Regions from separate parts of the Homo sapiens genome. Here all the other regions are linked to region 1. The links are contacts of gene promoters, found by promoter capture Hi-C in blood cells and fetal thymus (Javierre and others, 2016). All regions are on one chromosome and are shown on one strand. Each heading gives the region's core, a stretch centred on a gene start or on the middle of the fragment in contact. The rest is flanking DNA. Distances are from core to core; before and after follow the strand shown. Region 1 holds the start of CCNP (cyclin P). Region 2 holds the start of IFNL2 (interferon lambda 2). Region 3 holds the start of LGALS16 (galectin 16).

The links. Contacts are between HindIII fragments. The CHiCAGO score rates a contact against its expected background, and 5 or more counts as called.
Region 2: the fragment with the promoter of IFNL2 here is called in contact with the fragment with the promoter of CCNP in region 1 in 2 of 17 cell types (neutrophils and monocytes); the score reaches 8.7 in neutrophils.
Region 3: a contact is called between the fragment with the promoter of LGALS16 here and the fragment with the promoter of CCNP in region 1, in 4 of 17 cell types (total CD4 T cells, neutrophils, M2 macrophages and 1 more). The highest score is 8.2, in total CD4 T cells.

Annotation. Positions count from the first base shown.
Region 1 is chr19:40,225,198-40,229,414 of GRCh38, forward strand. CCNP (cyclin P) reads right to left here and starts at 1,492. Exons shown (of 5, transcript NM_024877.4): 1 at 1,178-1,492. The coding sequence starts at 1,444. RefSeq lists a silencer at 1,180-1,299 and an enhancer at 1,326-1,879. The HindIII fragment of the contact is 9,498 bases long and covers 1-3,068 here.
Region 2 is chr19:39,266,202-39,270,418 of GRCh38, forward strand. IFNL2 (interferon lambda 2) reads left to right here and starts at 2,195. Exons shown (of 6, transcript NM_172138.2): 1 at 2,195-2,377; 2 at 2,476-2,657; 3 at 2,951-3,028; 4 at 3,287-3,436; 5 at 3,537-3,620; 6 at 3,714-3,987. The coding sequence starts at 2,368. The coding sequence ends at 3,812. The HindIII fragment of the contact is 23,103 bases long and covers 1-4,217 here.
Region 3 is chr19:39,654,008-39,658,224 of GRCh38, forward strand. It overlaps LGALS16 (galectin 16), which reads left to right and starts at 1,906. Exons shown (of 4, transcript NM_001190441.3): 1 at 1,906-1,969; 2 at 3,876-3,952. The coding sequence starts at 1,955. The HindIII fragment of the contact is 3,782 bases long and covers 1,820-4,217 here.

The sequences.
Region 1 (4,217 bases), core at 242-2,741:
TACAGGCATGTGGCACCATGCCCGGCTAATTTTTATATTTTTGTAGAGACGGGGTTTCACCATGTTGACCAGACTGGTCTTGAACTCCTGACCTCAGGTGATCCGCCCACCTCAGCCTCCCAAAGTGCTGGGATTACAGGTATGAGCCACTGCACCCGGCCTCAGACTTCAACTCTTGACCACGAATCCTCAACCCCTCTGCCTCAGAGCACCCAGAAGCATCTTCCCAAAGAAAGATCTGACCAAGGAACTCCCCAGCTTAAAACCCTTCCATGGCTCCCAGTACCCTTGGAGAAAACTCTGATTTCTTTCAGGCTCTGCTCCAGCATCACCTCTTCCCTCTCTCTCCCCACAACCCATGCGTCAGCCACAGCTGCCTTCTTTTTAGCTCCTAGACTATACCAAGCCCATTCCTACCCCAGGCCCTTTGCACTTCCTGTTTCCTCTACAGAGAGGGTCCTTCCCCAGCCCCTTACTCGACCTTTCCGTCATTCAGCTAACATCTCCATGACTTTGTCTATACTCCTACCACCCGATCACTATCTCTTTGTCTCAGCATTTTCACTGTGAAGATGTCTCCCTGTGTGCTTTGTCTATTTGGCCGCTAGGCTGCCAGTCCCACGAGGGCAGGGACTTCTGCCCACAACACAAGTGTCTCTCAGGTCCTAACAGAGATCCTGGCCCAGGAGAGTCGCAGGCAAGACGTTCAACAAACTCCTCCCTTCAGTCTTCCTTCCGCAGCAACCCTCTCATAGGGATATCTGAAGGCTGGCGAGGCCAATGTTTTGGTTTGCGTGGCCTTTCCCTAGTTGTTCTATGTGTTTGCTCATCTCCCCAGAACGAGGCCAGCATTGCAGCATCTCCAGCACCTAAAACATTTGCTACTAAACCATTAAATATTTGTTAAACAAATAAATGTGGAGGACAAGTACAGGGGACCATAAACACCCCAGGAGGGACTGCAAAGAGCCCGGGGACGGTGGGAAAGGGCATTCCCAGCGGTAGAAACGGCGCTGTGTGAAAACAAAACAAAAGCCTGGACGTTGCAGGGAAGGAACGCCGGCTGCCAGTGATAGGGAGGAGAGGCTGGAGCGGTGGGAGTTCAGAGTGGTGTTGAGTGGGTGCCGGGCGGTGGGCCGGCGTCGCCCTCACCAGGGCAGGCGGCGGGTAGGCTCACCATGACTTCGGCGAAGATGTCCCCGGCGTACTCGCGTTCTCCCTGCAGCCCCAGCGCGCTCAGCGCCTCCTCCAGCCCCGGCGGCCTCGCCAGGCGTCTTGGGGAGACAGTGGGGCCCGCGGGGAAGCCGTCGGGGACTGCGGCGCTTGAAGGCTCTGCGTCGAGGGAGGCAGCGAGACTCTGCAAAGGAGAGGGCCTGGGGGCCCAGCGCCTAACGATAGGCCCGAGCCGGGAGCCGGACCCCTGGTCCCTGCCTCTCACCAGCATCCTCCAGGAGGGTGTTGCGGGCGAGGCCAAGCACCGACCCTTGCAGCTAGGGGAAGAGACGCGCGGCGGGCGCTTTAAAGGCCCCTGGGCGCGTGCGCACTGAGCCCGCCTCGCCCGGGCAGGTGCACAAAGGTGAGTGCCCCGCAGGCTGGCTCTGTCCTCTCGAAGCCCTCTAAGGTCGGACAGCTGGAGACAGATCCTCATCCTGCTGCCCGGAAGCAGCCCCTCTGGGCCTCGCTTTCCTGACCATAAAGTCGGGATGATTTCAAAATGTAGAATCAGGGTTTGCACCGTCAGAGGATGGATGTACAAACATAGATCGGAGGTTAGAATGACCCTTGTGGTGTCGGTGTCGCAATGGAATTGGAGATAAAATTGTGTGAACACATGGTTGTTTACATAGAAGTTAAGTGTTGTGTGGCCGGGTGTGGTGGCTCACTCCTGTAATCCCAGCACTTTGGGAGGCCGAGGCGGGCGGATCACGAGGTCAGGAGATGGAGACCATCCTGGCTAACACTGTGAAACCCCATCTCCACTAAAAATACAAAAAGTTAGCTGGGCGTGGTGCCGGGAGCCTGTAGTCCCAGCTACTCAGGAGGCTGAGGCAGGAGAATGGCATGAACCCTGGAGGCGGAACTTGCAGTGAGCGAGATTGGGCCACTGTACTCCAGCTTGGGCGACAGAGCGAGACTCCGTCTCAAAAAAAAAAAAATTTTTTTTAAAAAGTGGTGTGTATGCAAACATGTATTTCCTAGCTTAATCCACTGGGAGAGCTTAAGAGCAGCGACACCCCAATAGTGAGAAGCACCCCTAACATCCAAACCCTGGCCGCCACATCCCATTCTCCACTAAAAGGAACCAGGGCTACCTGGAGAAATGGCTGATCCCAGGGTCATACAAGAGAAGGTACAAGATCTGGAATATTTTTGTGTGGCAGAAAGTGTCCCAACAGCAGGGCAAGTCACATAGATGCAGAAGTCACTAGCTAAATCTAGAAAATGTGAGCATCAAGATGATAGTCATAGATCACAAACCACTGAATAAAATTAAAATACAAGTTTATTCTGATATAACTCAGGCAGTGGGAAAGAAAAGCTCTTCTAATCTTTAGAAAGTGAACTAATAAATGTGTTTTGTTTTCAGACAGGGTCTCGCTCTGTCACCCAGGCTGGAGTGCAGTGGTGTGAACACGGCTCACTGCAGCCTCAACCTCCTAGGCTCAAGTGATCCTCCCATCTCAGCCTCCCAAGTAGCTAGGACTACAGGTGTGCGCCATCATGCTTGGCTAATTTTTAAATTTTTCTGTAGAGACTGGGGTATCACTTTGTTGCCTAGGCTGGTTTTGAACTCCTGGGTTCAAGGAATCCTCCCACCTTGGCTTCCCAAAGTGCTAGGATTACAGGTGTGGGCCGCCATGACTGGCCGAACTAATAATGTAGAAGGTTGGAAAATCCTATTTGGCAACCACCACAGCATCGTTTCATGCAAGAAATATCAATAGATGTTCAAACTAGTGGGTGAACATCTGATAGGAATCGGGATATCTACAAAATGTCTCTACACAAGATGTTTATTAACTGTGTAAACCAAAAGGTATCTGAGATAGGTGTCAATCAATTTAGAAAGCTTATTTTGCCAAAGTTAAGGGTGTGCGTGTGACACGGCCTCAGGAGGTATTCGGGGCACAGCTTGGTTTTATACGTTTTATGGAGACATGAGACGTCCTCAATATGTGTAAGCTGTACATTGGTTCGGTCCGGAAAGGCAAGACAACTCGAAGCAGGGGAGGGGGCTTCCAGGTCATAGACAGGAGACAAACGGCTGCATTCTTTTGAGTTTGATTAGCCTTTTACTGAATGCACAATTTACAGGAAGAGCCATCCATGCCTAGTCTGGGTCAAACAATAGGACGGAGGAAGCCATCAGATATGCATTGGTCTCATGTGAGCACAGGGATGACTTTGAACTCTGCCTGTCTTCTGTCCACAAGGAATTTCCTTGCGGGCAAATGGAGAGACGTAAGTAGCTTTAAAAAAAAATATATATATATATATATATCTTTTAGGCCAGGCGCAGTGGCTCACGCCTGTAATCCCAGCACTTTGGGAAGGTGAGGCAGGCAGATCACTTGAGGTAAGTTCGAGACCAGCCTGGCCAACATAGTGAAACCCTGTCTCTACTAAAAATACAAAAATTAGCTGGGTGTGGTGGTGGGTGCCTGTAATCTCAGCTACTGGTGAGGCTGAGACAGGAGAATCACTTGAACCCTGGAGGCAGAGGTTGCAGAGAGCCAATATCGCACCATGGCACTCCAGCCTGGGCGATAGAGTGAGACTCCGTCTTAAAAAAAAGAGAAAAAAAAAAAGTGAGGCAACCAACCCTGGTTGAGGGAAAATAACTGCAAAATAACTGCCCTGTGAGTTTCACACCTGCCAACTGAATGCAACATGTGAGCCTGGTCATTAGCTAGGAATTTTTAACATACAAGGACATTAAGCGTGACCATTAGCGAACACTATAAAATCTGTACAGAAGAGCAGTTTCAATGTTAGCTTCCTGACCTTGGTAACTGGAGAGCAGTTATGTAGCAGAATGTTCTTTAGGACAGGTATACAATGTGGAGCGGGAGGTGGAGGGGTGAATTTAACATTCTGATCCCATTTTTGTCCGTTTTAAGTAAAATGCTATGACGAACCTGGCGAAGGGTATATTTTGTAATTCTTCTACATAACTTTTTTGAATAGATTGACAGTTCCCACCTACCCCACACCCA
Region 2 (4,217 bases), core at 945-3,444, 960 kb before region 1:
AGCCAGCTTTGAGATTCTGTGAATCCGTGACTCTTGGATCCGGCATCTAAGGGACACCAATCCATGAGGGATTTGGTAGTGAAAGGCCCAAGGGTCCTTAACCGACTGTGGTTCTTTGGATTCCCTTACGTGTGTTTGTATTTGTGAAGTTCCTGTGCATTTGCTATTCTGTCTCCCGGTTTAAATTTATTGCCAGTTATCAAAGAGTGTTTTGATCGCATTGGTTGTTTTCCGTATGATGATTGTGAGGTGCACCTTACAGCAAAAAAAGAGGCCGAGCCAGGGACTCAGGTGGCCTGAGGTTCAGTTCTGACCCTGCCAGTTAATTACAGTGGAATTCAGGGCAAATTACTTTTCTGAGCCTCTGTTTCCTCACCTATAGGATGGGTTAGCATACTTGCCTTGTGGAGGAGTAGTGTCCGTTGAGATCACGTTTTAAACTCTCCAACTGAGGTCCTAGTATGGTCTTAATGAGTGGATTCTATTAAATAATCACTCACATAAATACACAAACAATTGTGTTATTAATTTTTTCTCCAAATCTGTGCATTAGCAATCTGCGTTGCTGAATGCACCCCTCCTTGCCAAGGTCACACGGCTAGTGAGGGTCAGAACCAGGTTTGAACCCCAGACCCTTCATCTCCAAGACCCATGCTCTTCACCACTGCCTGAACTTCCCTAAGAAAGACGGCACCCACGTGGTGTCCTTCAAGTCCTTCGTCACACCTCAGTTCTTGAGCAGAGCCTCATATTCCTGAGTCCTTCCTTGCCTGGGCAATTAAGAAATATTGGCCTTGGCTGGGCTCAGAGGCTCATGCCTGTAATCCCAGCACTTTGGGAGGACGAGGAAGGTGGATCATGAGGTCAGGAGTTCAAGACTAGCCTGGCCAGCATGGTGAAACCCTGTCTCTACTAAAAATACAGAAATTAGCTGGGCATGGTGGCACATGCCTGTAATCCAAGCTACTCAAGAGGCTGAGGCAGGAGAATCACTTGAACCCAGGAGGCAGAGGTTGCAGTGAGCTGAGATGGTGCCTCTGCACTCCAGCCTGGGCAACAGAGCGAGACTCCATCTCTCTTGCTCACTCACTCTCTCTCATGCTCTCTCTCTCTCTCTCTCTCTCTCTCTCTCTCTATATATATATATATATATATATATACACACACATATATGCCTCTGGCCGGGCGCGGTGGCTCACGCCTATAATCCCAGAACTTTGGGAGGCCGAAGAAGGCAGATCACGAGGTCAGGAGTTCAAGACCAACCTGGCCAATATGGCAAAACCCCGTCTCTACTAAAAATACAAAAATTAGTTGGGCGTGGTGGTGCATGCCTATAGTCCTTTCTACTCGGGAGGCTGAAGCAGAAGAATCCCTTGAACCAAGGAGGTGGAGGTTGCAGTGAGTCGAGATCACGCTGCTGCACTCCAGCCTGGGCTACAGAGCAAGACTCCATCTCAAAAAAAAAAGAAAAAAGAAAGAAAGAAAGAAATCATGGCCTCTGGGCACAGTGGCTCATGCCTGCAACCCCAGCAATTTGGGAGGCCAAGACAGACAGATCACTTGACGTCAAGAGTTCGAGACCAGCCTGGCCAATTGGTGAACTGTCATCTCTACTAAAACCATAAAAATTAGCTGGGAATGGTGGCACAAATCTGTAATCTCAGCTACTTGGGAGGCTAAGGCAAGAGAATCGCTTGAACCCAGGAGGTGGAGGTTGCAGTTAGTCAAGATTTTGCACTGCACTCCAGCCTGGGTGACCGAACAAGACCCTGTCTCAAAATATATATATATATATATGCCAGGAGGGGTGGCTCAGGCCTGTAATCTCAGCACTTTAATAGGCTGGGTGAGGAGGATGGCTTGAGCCCAGGAGTTTGAGGCTGCAGTGAGCTGTGATCATGCCATTGCACTCCAGTGACAGAGTGAGACCCTGTCTTAAACAACAACAAAACCAGAGCAGGTGGAATCCTCCTGGGAACATACCTTCCTGTAGGTTACCCCTGAGTCTCCATCAGTTTCTCTTTCCCTCCAGCTGCTCATCTGGCTCACTAGCCCTGCCCTGCTCTGGGCTTTCCCAGCCTGGGGCTCCCCTGGTGGCCGGTGTCTTACCTGAGGCTGTGTTTTCACTTTTCCTACATCAGCTGGGACTGCCCTTCTGTCAGGGATAAAAGCTGCCCCATGGAGCTCAGGCAGGAATTACATCCCAGACAGAGCTCAAAACTGACAGAAAGAGTCAAAGCCAGGACACAGTCTGAGATCCAGAAGAGGGGACTGAAAAGAACAGAGACTCCAGACAAGACCCAAACAGACCCTGGGTGACAGCCTCAGAGTGTTTCTTCTGCTGACAAAGACCAGAGATCAGGAATGAAACTAGGTGAGTCCCACATCTCTGTCCGTGCTCAGCTCCTGCAGCCCCTGCCCTCAGTGGGCAGCCTCTCCATCCCCTCAGCTCCCTTTCTCTCTGTGACACAGACATGACTGGGGACTGCACGCCAGTGCTGGTGCTGATGGCCGCAGTGCTGACCGTGACTGGAGCAGTTCCTGTCGCCAGGCTCCACGGGGCTCTCCCGGATGCAAGGGGCTGCCACATAGCCCAGTTCAAGTCCCTGTCTCCACAGGAGCTGCAGGCCTTTAAGAGGGCCAAAGATGCCTTAGTGAGTCTCCCCCTGCCCTCCTGCCATGGACTAGCCTCCACCCCCACTCCAAGCGTCACCATGCTTTCCCACTCCCAGCTTCCTTCACTGGGCTAGCCTCCACCCTCCCTGCAGTGGGCTATCTCATGCTCCTACTGTAGGGACTGACTCATGTTTTCCTGTAGAAGAGGGTCCTCTACCATCCTCCCAGCAGTTAACCTCCCCTATCCTGTTGTCAGCCATCCTCCAATCCCACCAGGATGGTCTAACCTCCACCCCTCCTGCTGGGGCTAACCTGTGCCTTTGCTGTCTAGGAAGAGTCGCTTCTGCTGAAGGACTGCAGGTGCCACTCCCGCCTCTTCCCCAGGACCTGGGACCTGAGGCAGCTGCAGGTGAGAGGGGGAGTCAGGCCCACCCCTGCTCTCCCAGCCCCACTCACCTGGCTCTGTAGTGGCCCCTTCACCGTCTCTTTCTCCCTTGTCTCTCTCTCTTCTCCTCACACCTGCTCTCCCTTCCCTCCGCTCCCACCTGACCACACTGGCTGTGCCCTCTCCCCTGTGCCTGTCACCTTCACTTGTTCCTCTCTATCCTGCTCCCCAACCTGTTCCCCTCACCTCCCCCCTCACCTGCTCTTTCTCACCTCTCCTCAGGTGAGGGAGCGCCCCATGGCTTTGGAGGCTGAGCTGGCCCTGACGCTGAAGGTTCTGGAGGCCACCGCTGACACTGACCCAGCCCTGGTGGACGTCTTGGACCAGCCCCTTCACACCCTGCACCATATCCTCTCCCAGTTCCGGGCCTGTGTGAGTCGTTGGGGCCTGGGCACCCAGGTCTGTGAGCTCTGAGCAGCGTCCTTCCCCTTGCCAAGGCCCCGGCTCACACACCGCCCTCCTCTGCCCACAGATCCAGCCTCAGCCCACGGCAGGGCCCAGGACCCGGGGCCGCCTCCACCATTGGCTGTACCGGCTCCAGGAGGCCCCAAAAAAGGTGAGTGACCCGGGAAGAGAGGGACTGAGGTCTGGGGAGCCACTGGGAGCCCAGAACCCAGACAGCCCCTGACCCATCCCCTCCTCCCTACAGGAGTCCCCTGGCTGCCTCGAGGCCTCTGTCACCTTCAACCTCTTCCGCCTCCTCACGCGAGACCTGAATTGTGTTGCCAGTGGGGACCTGTGTGTCTGACCCTCCCACCAGTCATGCAACCTGAGATTTTATTTATAAATTAGCCACTTGTCTTAATTTATTGCCACCCAGTCGCTATTTATGTATTTGTGTGTGTAAATCCAACTCACCTCCAGGAAAATGTTTATTTTTCTACTTTTTATAACCCTTGTTGAAATAAACAAAGGAAAAGACACTCATGACGTTGGACTGTGTGTCTGTTGGTGTGTATTTCCTTTGTGTTGCTGCCATAACAACGCTAAAAGTAGCATCTTCCAAAGACACACTTGATGAGCTGGGAGTCTGCAGGTCAGAGGCTCGCTGGCCCTGGCTGGTTTCTCTCCTGTGGGACTCACAGGCTAGAATCCAAGCATTGCTGCTGGGCTCTTACTGGGAGCTCTGAAGAGAAACTCTTTCCAGGGTCAG
Region 3 (4,217 bases), core at 656-3,155, 570 kb before region 1:
TTTAATAAATGGTGCTGGGAAAACTGGCTAGCCATATGTAGAAAGCTGAAATTGGACCCCTTCCTTACACCTTATACAAAAATTAATTCAAGATGGATTAAAGACTTAAATGTTAGACCTAAAACCATGAAAACCCTAGAAGAAAACCTAGGCAATATCATTTAGGATGTAGGCATAGGCAAGGACTTCATGACTAAAACACCAAAAGCAATGGCAACAAAAGCCAAAATTGACAAATGGATCTAATTAAACTAAAGAGCTTCTGCACAGCAAAAGAAACTACCGTCAGAGTGAATAGGCAACCTACAGTATGGGAGAAAATTTTTGCAATCTACCCATTTGACAAAGGGCTAATATCCAGAATCTACAAAGAACTTAAACAAATTTACAAGAAAAAAACAAACAACCCCATCAAAAAGTGGGCAAAGGATATGAACAGACACTTCTCAAAAGAAGACATTTATGCAGCCAACAAACACAGGAAAAAATGCTTATCATCACTGGTCATTAGAGAAATGCAAATCAAAACTACATTGAGATACCATCTCACACCAGTTAGAATGGCGATCATTAAAAAGTCAGGAAACAACAGATGCTGGGGAGGATATGGAGAAATAGGAACGCTTTTACACTGTTGGTGGGAGTGTAAACGAGCTCAACCATTATGGAAGACAGTGTGGCCATTCCTCCAGGATCTAGAACTAGAAATATCATTTGACCCAGCATCCCATTACTGGGTATATACCCAAAGGATTATAAATCATGCTACTATAAAGACACATGCACACGTATGTTTATTGCAGCACTGTTCACAATAGCAAAGACTTGGAACCAAACCAAATCCTTCAATGATAGACTGAATTAAGAAAATGTGGCACATATACACCATGGAATTCTATGCAGCCATAAAAAAGGATGAGTTCATGTCCTTTGCAGGGAGATGGATGAAGCTGGAAACCATCATTCTGAACAAACTATCACTAGCACAGAAAACCAAATACCGCATGTTCTCACTCATAGGTGGGAATTGTACAATGAGAGCACTTGGACACATGGCAGGGAACATCACACATGGGGGACTATCATGGGGTGGGGGGCAGGGGGATGGATAGCATCAGGATAAATAATGTAAATGACGAGTTAATGGGTGCAGCAAACAAACATGGCACATGTATACCTGTGTAACAAACCTGCACATTGTGCACATGTACCCTGGAACTTAAAGTATAATAATAATTTTTTTTAAATCTCACCTTTCTCCCAGAATCTGCAGAAGAAACAGTCTCCCTCAAACTTTGATTTACATGGACACCAACAGAGGGTGTAGCTAGAGCCCAAGTGTGTGACAGTCAGATGAAAGTGGCCCTTACCTAGCAAAGCCAAGTGGCTTAGTGTGGGGCAGGTTCATGCAAGAAATTTCTCTACTTCTCTCTGCAGATCCTCCTCAGGATCAAGGTCAGTGCTCTCCCAGAACATTTAAAGGCAGAGAGAAGAATTACCTTTTAGGGCTAACTTGTTTCCCCCAAAATCTCCAACTTTTTTTTTCTTGTTTAGCCATTGTACAAAATTGGGAAAATGTACACCTTCTGGGTAGATTCTGCATAGTGGAGAAAAGGCTTGAGAGGCACAAAGGCTGGGCTTTACAATCACTACCCCTCACTCCATCATCCTTATCTATGCATTTCCCTGGTAACCCAATCCACAGTCTGGTACCTTCCCCAATGTCATTTCTGCTGCATTACAGACACAGACTTGCAAATAGTTATGGTTGTGACTGAGTTTCTTCGTGACACCTGACCCTTTCTCATGCTGCAAGGAAAGCTTGCTGGGAGGAGCATGGAATCTGGAATGATGCCAGAGGGCAAAGCTGAAAGGGGTCATTTAAGTGCTGCAACTCAGAGATTCACTCAGAAGACTGGACACAATTCCGAAGGTCGCCCAGAAGGAGAGGACAATGTCATTTCTAACTGTGAGTTGAAAAGGCACAGCCTTCAATAATCTCAAGTCACACAAAACCAAGAAAGATGTGGGGTATTTTATGAGATGAAAATATGAGCATTCCTACTGTGAATGCTTTACTGAGAGTTGTGGGTGTGTGGAAGAGAAACACTGAGGCTGGGTATCTGAGATGCTTGTAGCATGTGGGTTGTGGATCCTGGACAAATGTAACCCTCTGTGAGCATGAGGTGGTATCTGATGAGAGTGAACTCTGATGAGATGATGTGACTTTAGGTGGGAGGTGGATGGCACACCAGGTCAAGCAGGTGTTTGTGTGAGTGTAAGGGGGGTGATTGTACTTTGTCTTCCTCTTTGTGATGTGAGTGTGTGTTAGCACAGCCAGACCAGTGCATGGTCATCTTTATGTGCGCAGTGAGCAGGTGTGTGTAACTCAGTGAGTGGCATGGCTCTGTGTGACTGTGGGTGTGTGTGCTGGGATGTGACTGAGTATTGAAGGGAAAACACGCATGTGGCCTTCTGTGCATGTGAAGGTTCCTCCCCACACAACAGCACTTCTGATGAAGGAACTGTGTGTCTTTTCATGTGTGGCAATGTGGATCCCAGGTGGCTTAACTGGTAGGGATCTTGGAGATTGTGAGTTACCAAGGACTTGTTTCAGATCACTTATGAGAGCAGAATGTATGATCAGTAGATGTCTCTTCCCAGTAAGAGTGGGGAAGAGGAATGGAGACTATGGGGGTGATGGATCCTCAGGTGGGGTCTGCACAGAGTGACCACTGTCTCTTGCCTCCCAGGCTCAGCTTCCCTGTCCCCAGCCTATCCTGTCCTTTTCATTGTGGGACAGGAGGTTTGCTAGAGAAGGATATTAGAGGCCATGGTTTCAGAGACTGAATCACGTAAAATATCCACTGTAAGCTATGTCTCAACTGAGTCTAAACTTGTTCCTCCACCCATGAAGGAACAAGTCTAGTCTCAGTTCAGACAGAGCTTACAGTGGATATTAATCAACAAAGCAGCTGGGTTCACTGGCTCACGGCTATAATCCCACCAATCTGAGAGACAAAGATGAGAGGATAACTTGAGGCCAGAAGTTTGAGGCCAGTCTGGGTATCATAGTGAGACCCTTTCTTTAAAAAACTTTAAATATCAGACTGCCAGAGTGGCAGGCACCTTTTGCCCCAGCTACACAAGAGGGGGCAGATGTGTGAGGATCACTGCAGCCCAGGAGTTCAACGTTTCAATGAGCTATGATCGCACCACTGCATGTCAGCCTGGGCAACAGAGCAAGACCCTATCTCAAAAATACAGAAAAATCATCAACCACTTGTAGTCATTGTAGAAATCAATCATTCCCTCCAGTTATGTCCCTGACCCACAGGCTTCACTTGTGCAAGTACTGGGGCTGTGCTGTCAGTAATGTGTGCCACTTCTTGGAAGGACGTCCATTGCCCTTGATGATTGTGAGAGTTGAAAATAAGGCAGATCAGTGTTTCAGGAGGACTCCCCTGTTCTGTTAGGTCACCCCTAACAGGCCCTACACATGCCAGGGATTAGGGTAAAAGTTTTACATGTATTAACTGCTCTATTATGGAGAACTTCCTACACAGTAGGAATTCATGATAATCCTCCTTGTTTTAGGGAAACTGAGGAAGTCAAGTAACCGATCTAAGATTGCACTGCTAGTAAGAGGCAGAATGAGGACTGGAATCCAGGCTTCTTGGCTCCTGAACCCTTGCTCTTACCTATGGGTCCACCATACCTTCAGGAATGTGGGGCCCTGACTGTGGTAGAGTGAATGGGGAGAGTCCACAGAGCCTGCCCTGTGATCTCTAACCTCCTGCACCATGGGAATATGTTACAGGAAGGGAGACTGCACCTGACCCTGCACCTCTCACTTATTCTCAATACCCTGGCAGGTGCCATACAAACTGCCTGTGTCTTTGTCTGTTGGTTCCTGCGTGATAATCAAAGGGACACTGATCGACTCTTCTATGTGAGTACTCCATGGTCCAATGGAGGGGGTGGAGGAGAAAGGAGAATATTTGCTAAGAGTTTGACCTTATGTGTGGGTGATGTGGAAATGTCTAATTGGCAGGATGGAGGCCCCATGCAGGTGCAGGTCCTGGAGACCCTCCAGCACCAGGCATGAGACCTGCAGCAACTGCATGTGGGCCAGCCATGGGGCCTAGGGGAGGAGAATACTCAGTGGGTTGGGACTGTGGCTCTTTATCAAGGGGCATAGAATTTTCAGGGAATGA